Regions from separate parts of the Homo sapiens genome. Here region 2 is linked to region 1. Evidence: promoter capture Hi-C in 16 types of primary human blood cells and fetal thymus (Javierre and others, 2016). All regions are on one chromosome and are shown on one strand. Each heading gives the region's core, a stretch centred on a gene start or on the middle of the fragment in contact. The rest is flanking DNA. Distances are from core to core; before and after follow the strand shown.

Evidence for each region. Contacts are between HindIII fragments. The CHiCAGO score rates a contact against its expected background, and 5 or more counts as called.
Region 2: a contact is called between a fragment that was not itself captured here and the fragment with the promoter of LINC01511 in region 1, in 1 of 17 cell types (non-activated CD4 T cells). The highest score is 5.9, in non-activated CD4 T cells.

What each region holds. Positions count from the first base shown.
Region 1 is chr5:1,378,205-1,382,223 of GRCh38, forward strand. LINC01511 (long intergenic non-protein coding RNA 1511) reads right to left here and starts at 1,869. Exons shown (of 2, transcript NR_125810.1): 1 at 1,358-1,869. The HindIII fragment of the contact is 19,487 bases long and covers 1-3,778 here.
Region 2 is chr5:1,202,322-1,206,340 of GRCh38, forward strand. All of the region lies in intron 1 of SLC6A19 (solute carrier family 6 member 19), which reads left to right. Among named protein-coding and RNA genes, the nearest start is that of SLC6A19, 2.7 kb to the left of the region's middle. RefSeq lists an enhancer at 1,742-2,305. The HindIII fragment of the contact is 1,375 bases long and covers 1,231-2,605 here.

The sequences.
Region 1 (4,019 bases), core at 619-3,118:
GAACACACGGGCCCATGCCAGGCTCACACCCGTCTACCCAGCCGTCTACCGACACTTCCGTGCTGAAACTACAAGCTCCTACTGCCGCCTCCCCTCCCAGCCTCCCATGCTCCTTACTGGTAGCTCCCTTCTCCAGCAGCGAGGCTCGTCACCCACAGCGCGGCCGCTGGAAGGTGACCTGAGCGGCCAGACAGGGCCTCCTGCTCAGAGTTTAAAGCTCTGCTGTCGCCATCCTTAAGTTCTTAATGAGTTTTGAGCAAGGGCCCTGCAATCTCATTTCGCACCAGGTCCCGCAAATTATGTATCCGGCTCTAATTACCCACAATATGCTTGCTTGCTCAAGTCTGGAGCACACACAAAGTAATCTCATAATTGCTAACCCAGGTTGCTGTGCAAAACAGCTTCACAAACTAGGGCACAGTGTCTGCACGCCATTCTTTTTGTCTTACAGCCCATGATACTGTCTTCCAAAGCATGCGGTAGGTTTTCTTTTCCCCACTCCCTTCGATGAGGTTCACCTGTTACTGCTTATATTCCATTTCGGCTTCAAGCCCCCATCCCGGTTGATTTTAATCACTTATTTACTTTGGGGGGTGTGTGGTATATTTCTGTGGTCCTGGAAGGAACACAAAAGCTGCAGCCTCCATAATAAGGTAAGCCCACCAGCGCCTGTACCTTTGAGGACCATGAAGGGAAGGGTCTGTCTCCCTGTTCCCTCCACTAACTCCCCCCATCTCTCTGGCCCCCACTTCTCCGCAAAGTGGAAACTCCCTGGGGAGGCAGAAGACCAGGGTGGCAGGACTGCAGGCAGAGAGGGATTCCTGCCGCCCCATGGCTGGGTACCGCTGGTAGGCCACGCACACACTGGGTAAGTGTGCACTAGGCACTGACGTTAAGGGCCAGGCGTTGGTCCCTCCGTCTCACCTGCGCCAACTCAGCACAGGGAGAGAGCTGAGGCTCTGACAAGGATACAGGGCAGAGAGCAGGAAACAGCAGGGCTCAGGCTAGGGGTGGGAGCCCAGCTGCTCAGGAGTTGAAGTGCAGGCCCCCTGTGGGCACCTGGCGGACAGGAAAGGAAGGAGACTAAGGAGTGTGTTGTACTTTATCTGTACCTGGCTACGTGAGATCAGACTGTCACCCAGCATTAACTAAACCTTACAGTGGAGACAGTGGGTTGTATCACTCCCGAGAAGAAACCACAGAACGCTGTAGGAGTAATGCCTGCACCGGCTTCCCCCGCACCACACGGAGCGGCTGCCTACAGCTTTGTTAGGGGCTGAATGCAACCCCGATGCAGGCACCAGCCCTCCAGAGCAGCCTCCATGGAGGAATGCGGTTCCCCACTCTGCCCACATACCTCTCCTGCAGCAGCGCTGAACACCGTCTCCGGACGTCTGGAGCTATCACCATGGGCAACACTTTCGTGGTCTTTATTTTTAGCTTCTCCTTTAGAAACTCACTTTTTGGGGTGGTTTTGTGTCCAGAAGTTGGTGGGTTCTTAGTCTCGTCTTCAAGAATGAAGCCGCAGACCCTCGCGGTACATGTTACGGTTACCTAAAAACGGTGTGTCTGGAGTTTGTTCCTTCTGGTGCGTTCGTGGTCTACACTGATTTCAGGAGTGAAACTGCAAACCTCCGCGGTGAGTGTCACAGCTCCTAAAAATGCAGCACGTCCAGAGTTCTTTGCCCCTCCCAGTGGATTTACAGTCTCGCTGGCTTCGGGAGTGAAGCTGTAGACCTTTACCGTGAGCGTTGCAGCTCACAAACGCAGCACAGACACAAACACTGAGCAGCAGTAAGATTTACTACGAAAACCAAACAAGGAAAGCTCCCAGAGGACAAAAGCAGACCCTAACAGGTTGCCACCGCTGGCTCCCGCAGCCTGCTTTTATTCCCTTATCTGACCCCACCCACATCCTGCTGACTGGTCCATTTTACGGAGAACTGATTGGTCCATTTTACAGAGAGCTGATTGGTCCATTTTACAGAGAGCTGATTGGTCCATTTGGACAGGGTGCTCATTGGTGCATTTACAAACCTTTAGCTGGCTACAGAGTGCTGATTGGTGTGTTTACAATCCTTTAGGTAGACAGAAAAGTTCTCCAAGTCACCACCGGAGCCAGAAGCCCAGCCGGCCTCACCTCTCAGTAGCACTCCCTTTAGAACTTTGCAGCATCTACCCTGGGCACTCCGGCAGCCCAGAGGGAGCTCATCCCCAGATCAAGCCCAGCAGGCGTCGGCGGGCCAGCCAAGCCTGCACCCACCCGGAACCCGCGCCGCCCGCGAGCGCTGCGCTCAGCCCCCGCTCCCGCCCGCGCCTCTCCGCCAGCAGAGGGAGCTGGCTCCAGCCTCGGCCAGCCCCAGAGAGGGGCCCCACAGCGCAGCGGCAGGCCGAAGGGCTCCTCAAGCACGGCCAGAGCCGACACGGAGGCCCAGGAAGCGCCGAGAGCCAGCGAGGGCTGCTGGCACGTTGTCACCTTTCAGTTTCACAATATCCCAAGATGCATTAGTAGTTTCTGTAGCCTGAGTGTTAGTGGCCCCCAAAATTGATAGGTTGGAACCTAATACCCAATGTGATGGTGTTAACAGGTGGGACCTTTGGGAGGTGAGTAGATCACGAGGGCTGTGCTCTCACGAATGGCATGAGTGGCCCGGGTAGAAGAGGCTCCAGGGAGCTCCCTCGCTCTGTCCACCCTGAGCCTTGTCAAGAGGCGCCGTCTTGGAAGCAGAGGGCTGCCTCATGGGACGCCACATCCGCCAGCACCCTGGTCTTGGACTTGCAGCCTCCAGGACTGTGAGCAATAAATGTCTGTTGTTGACAAGTGGCTCAGGCTTAGGCGTGTTGTCACAGCAGCCCGAATGGACTCCAGCAGCAGAGCAGCCAGGGCTGCACGTGGTGCGTGAACACACCCGCCGCCCTCCTCCTCCTGGGGCATATGACGGCTGCGCAGCTCTGTGTATCCAGTTTCTGGGCTGTTCCATGCCCCTATTCCCCTGATTGCTATGTTCTCCAGCTGAAAGAGCACACTGATTTTGCCTTCAGCCCACTCTCATTTTCCCCCAGATTTCACTAAGTGATTTTGCTAAGTGATGGCTGTGCTTCCCCTGTGCGCTTCTCTCTGGCTGGTTTCTACTCCGGATCCACTAGTGGGGCCAGAAAGAGCAGTAGGAAGGAACCTGAGGTTCCTGTCCACCATCAGGCATGTGCACACCTACACCCACACACCCCTGCACTGTGCACACCCACACACACTTGCACACCCACCTGTGCACACGTACATCCATACACACATGCTCACCCCTACATGGACACCCACACACGTGCACGTGCCCATACACATGCACACCCATGCACACACCTGTCTGTGCACACCCCACACCCATGCATGCCGGCACACACCCATGCACATCCACACACAGGCACATACCCACACACACGTGCACACCTCACACCCATGCATACCTGCACACGCTTGCACACTCACCTGTGCACACACATCATACCTGCATGCACACCCCCACACGCACACCCACACACCTGTGCACACACCCATACACATGCATGCCCACACCCACATGTGCACACACCGTACATACCTGCACACACCCACGTATGCACATGGTCAACACTCACCCACTCAGGCACTCTTACATGCACACACGCACACAGACATGGCCACTTTCATGGACACACACCCACACACGCCCACATATACACGCATGCCCACCTAAACCACTCACTTGACCAAATAGCTTTTCAGGAGAGCGCCTGGTCCTGAAGCTTTCTAGGCATTTCGGTAGCCAAACCCTCTTGATCGTGTGGTTCCAGAAAAAGCCAGTGCGGCACCCACTTACCCGTACTGCAGCCACCGTGGTCCCGGGAAGAGGGCTTGCTTCCGCAGAGCTAATGAGGGAAGCGGTCTCTGAGAGTAGAAGGGAGGCCTCGGAGGGAGGTGGTCTCCAAGAGTAGCCGGGAGGCCTGGGAGGATGGTGGTCTCCGAGAGTAGCAGGGAGGCCTGG
Region 2 (4,019 bases), core at 668-3,167, 180 kb before region 1:
AGCCTGTGGACTCGGGCCTGGCTCTTGAGCCAGGTGCCCTCAGGCCTGGAGGCCGGGAGCCGCTGTGCCCACCCAACACACAAGCCTGACTGCTCCTCGTTCCTCTGGCTCCTGCGGCCCAGGTAGGCATGGCCGCTGCTGGCACAGAGGTGACATTTGTGTTCCTGCCCAGTGGTCCTGAGCATCTGAGAAGTGGCTCCCAGGCCTGGCAGGGGGCTGTACCTAGGACCCCCACACTTGAACTCAGCCTTGGGCTTGGCGAACCCCAAAGCTGCTGCCCTCATAAACCTGCTGCTTTCTCAGCGGAAGGTCCAGGAGGGCCGGGCACCCTTGGGAAACAGGCTTCCTGCTGCCCTGGGGCAGTTCACGGGGGGGCCGTGAAGGTCTCAGCCTCCGTTTAGAGGAGTCTGCCCTCAGGGGGCCCTGTTCCTTCTCACCATGGAGAGCTGCTGTCTCTCACGCGGGCTTTGTGATGTGAAGGTTTTTAAAGAAAAACAGAAATGGGCTTTTCCTGAATCAGTTTCGCCTCCAGCATTGTCAAGGAGTTGATCACTGCCTTGCGGGGGTGGGCGCTTCATGAGCCTCTGGTCCAGCCTGCACTTTCCACTGGAGGCAGGTCGGGGGACCTTGGCCACTCCGATACTATAGTCCCTGACAGTCCCCAAGTCTCAGCTCACCAAAGCCTCAGGGGACTTCCTGGCCACTGTCCTCGCCCCCTCCCCCAGGGCCCTATCCTGTGGGGAGGATCCCTGCGCTCACCCACACCCTGAGTTTGTTTAGCTTGGAGGAGAAACTGAGTCACAGGCTCACATCCCCACTGGGGATGGAGGGGCAGACACATGCCTCCTGGGAAGAGGAGGGGTTGGGACTGCCTGAGCCTGCCTGGGAAGTTATTTGTCTTTGCACAGAAGGGCAAGTTCTAAGATGCGGGCTTGGGCAGGAATCTGATGGGGCTCCCAGCACCTCAGATAGTCCCCGCTCTGACACCCAGAGACCAGCCGCTGTGCACGGTGGAGCCTGGGAGCGAGCAGCTTTCAAGCAGCGGGTGCTGGCGCTGCACCCTGGGCCATGCTGGGGTGGACAGGTGCGGGCAGCGGGCAGCGGGCAGCGGGTTCCGGGCAGGCAGGCCCAGGTGAGGAGGGCCGAGCAGGGCTCTGGGATGTGCTGGGTCTCAGATGGTCCCACTCCTGGGGTGGACACCAGCAGGCCCTTCTCCCCAGACCCCAGACAAGCTTCCCCTGACCTGGCCCTTCGGCTGGGCCACCAGGTCACCTGCTAGACTCTGAGGGCCACTGTCACCTGGGCCCCCATCAGCTGCGGCATCGCAGATGGCTCCACAGGGTTCTGGCAGTCGCCCCGGCCTGGAGGAACCCTGTGCCTTTTGGTCATGCTGTGGGGGCTGACCAGGACCCCACATACCAGACCACCAGCCTGAAAGAGCTGAAGCCCACACTGCAGCCAGAGGGACTCGGGCCAGAAGGGCAGGGCCCCGAGAATGGGAGACGGCTCTGCAGGCCACCGGGTTTCCCAGCAGGGCACCCGTCTCCTGGTGAATCCAATCTGGGCCGCAGCTCTGCCACAAGGGAGCTTTCAGGGAGGCAGCTGAAAGGACCCGGCGACACAGGGTCCCCTCCTATGGCTCCTGGGGGCCTCATGGGCACCAAAACAGTGGGGCAGGCTGCGTCCCTGGGAGGCCACACCCACAGACAGCGCACTCTCTCTCTGTGCATCTTAGTGAGGGCCCCAGCATGCATGCCTTGTCAGTGACACCAGATTTCCTAATTGATGCGGGTCATCGAGACCAAATCGAGGGGAAGCAGGCAGCCAGGTCCTCCTGGTTCCCTCTTGGAAGCCTCCTGAGTGTCTGGGATTGTCCTTCGAGGTTAAAAACCATTTACGCGTGCCTCCGAGTCTCCTGTGTCTTAACAGATTTTGCCCTCCTTGGAGAGCCTGTGCCAGGTGGGCAGGCTCAAGGGACACTTTCCTGAGGAAGGGCATTTCCAAACTCAGCCGCCCCACTCACCTGAGCCGTCTCAAGGGCGTGCTGCACCTGGGCATTCTCACCTGGGAAATGGGTGTGATGGCGGAGCCCCCCGAGGGTGGTGCTGGGGGCAGTGGGCAGGTGTGCAGGAACAGCAACCAAAAGCCGTGAGGCGTGGTCAGCCAGGGCTCACCCCACTCACCCCCACCTGGGAGCACCACATCCCCACGGCAGGGCCCCGCAGTGCCGGTGGCGCAGGCGGAGACGCATTCATGCCCACCTGTGTCCGTCCAGAAACCTCAGTTGCCCCGTGTGTCCCCGTCAGTGGCTGCTGATAGAGCCCACCCCACAGCTGGCCCCTCAGGGGCTGCCCCCCCAGCTCCTCTGCACAGGGCAGTGATGGTGTCCGTGAGCGAGGTGGCGTGCGGGAGCCGGAGGAGCCACCCCTTCCAGGACCATGTGGCGCCAGCACAGCTGTTTCCAGCTGTCTCTTCTTTGCTGCTCAACGCCTGGCCCCGGGGTCAGCTTTCCCCTTAGTCCATCTGCAGCTAATTCTTAGCAAAAATCCATGCAGCATTTACTTGGTGCCACAAACACCACCTGCTGGAGAGAGAAAAAAGGGGAAGCTTAGTCCCTGCGTGAGAACTGCAGCTCCCTCCTCCCCCTCTCTCCTGGTTTCCTACTTTTTCAAGGACAGACAGGAGGAACTGTTTCTGTGCCCAGTGTCTCTTTCCCTCTGGGTGCTTTCCATTTGGCCACGTCCCCACCCCATTCTCTCGGTTACCTGCTTCCACCTGAGTGAGCCAACATCTGCAGCGCCGCAGAGAGGCCTGGTTTCCAGGGACCTTTGCAACCACGTCCAGGCGCCCTGCAGGGCCCCACCAGGCAGAGCCACGCAGTGTTCCCTGGGCGCTGGCCGCCCCTTTCCTTCTCTCCTTCCTCTGCACCTCACCCCACACTAGGAAGAAGTCGCTGCGTTTAAAAGACAAATATTCATATTCTGGTGGCTTTAATTGTCAAGAATGCTTGGCTTTCCTTGAGTTTCTTGGGGCAGGACAGCCTCCTTCATTGGGAGCAACGGAGGGCCTGGCTGCCTCCGGGCTGCATTTGGGGTGGAGTGGGTGTGTGCCCCCCACCCCCAGTCCTCTCTGTTCACTGCTCCATGCTGAGCCTGAGCCCCAGGGGTTGGGGATTTGAGGGTCTCCTGCCCGGAGGAACCTTCAGAAAGGAGAGCCACCAGGAGCAAGGGCAACAACTGAGACTCTCAAAAGAGGGGACACCCTGGTGGGGTTTTCAAGGATGAGTAGGAGTTTTCTCAATGGAGATGAAGCGATAGGAAGACCCGAGCATTTAGGGTTAGGGCATAGTGGAGGGAAGGGAGAGGGTGGAGGACACTGGGGATCATGCACTTGCTTTTTCTTGGTAGTTTTGTCTGGAAGAGTTTCAAATCAAGCTCTTGGGAAAAAAAAATTGGAGGAGTGAATCTTTTCTTATTTTAACCTAATGAGCAGGCCCTGCTGGGGTCTTGGGTGTCCCTGCAGGTGAGCCTGCAGCCCCCACACCCTCCCATAGGGACCCGCTGGTGAGCATCTCCTGCACCTGGCTACCATTCCCTTCTGCCTTTCATCTCTCGATGAATCCAGCATCCCGCCAGCCCACCCTACACACCTGGCTCTGCTGCTGCCACCTGCAGCTCCTGCTTCTGAAGGAACCTGTCCCTGGAACCCCAGCTCAGAGAGAGGGGCCTGTGTGGGGATAGAGGTGCTGGGCTCCAGAGGGCCCTGCTCCACTCAACAGGCAGGCACCAAGTGGACACAGAGGGAGGGGAGAGAAAAGGCTCCGTGTTAAACTGGGAGAGGGAGCAGTGAGAGAGGCTGGCAGGGGCCAAGTGAGGAAGTCACAGCCTCCAGTACCTGGCTTCTCCCTCCCTCCCTCCTTCTCTCTCTCTCTCTCCATCGCCCTGTCTGTTTCTCTCCTCTGTCTCTCTCTGTTTCTGTCTGTGTGTGTGTCTCTCTGTCTCTTTTTCTGTGTGTCTCCA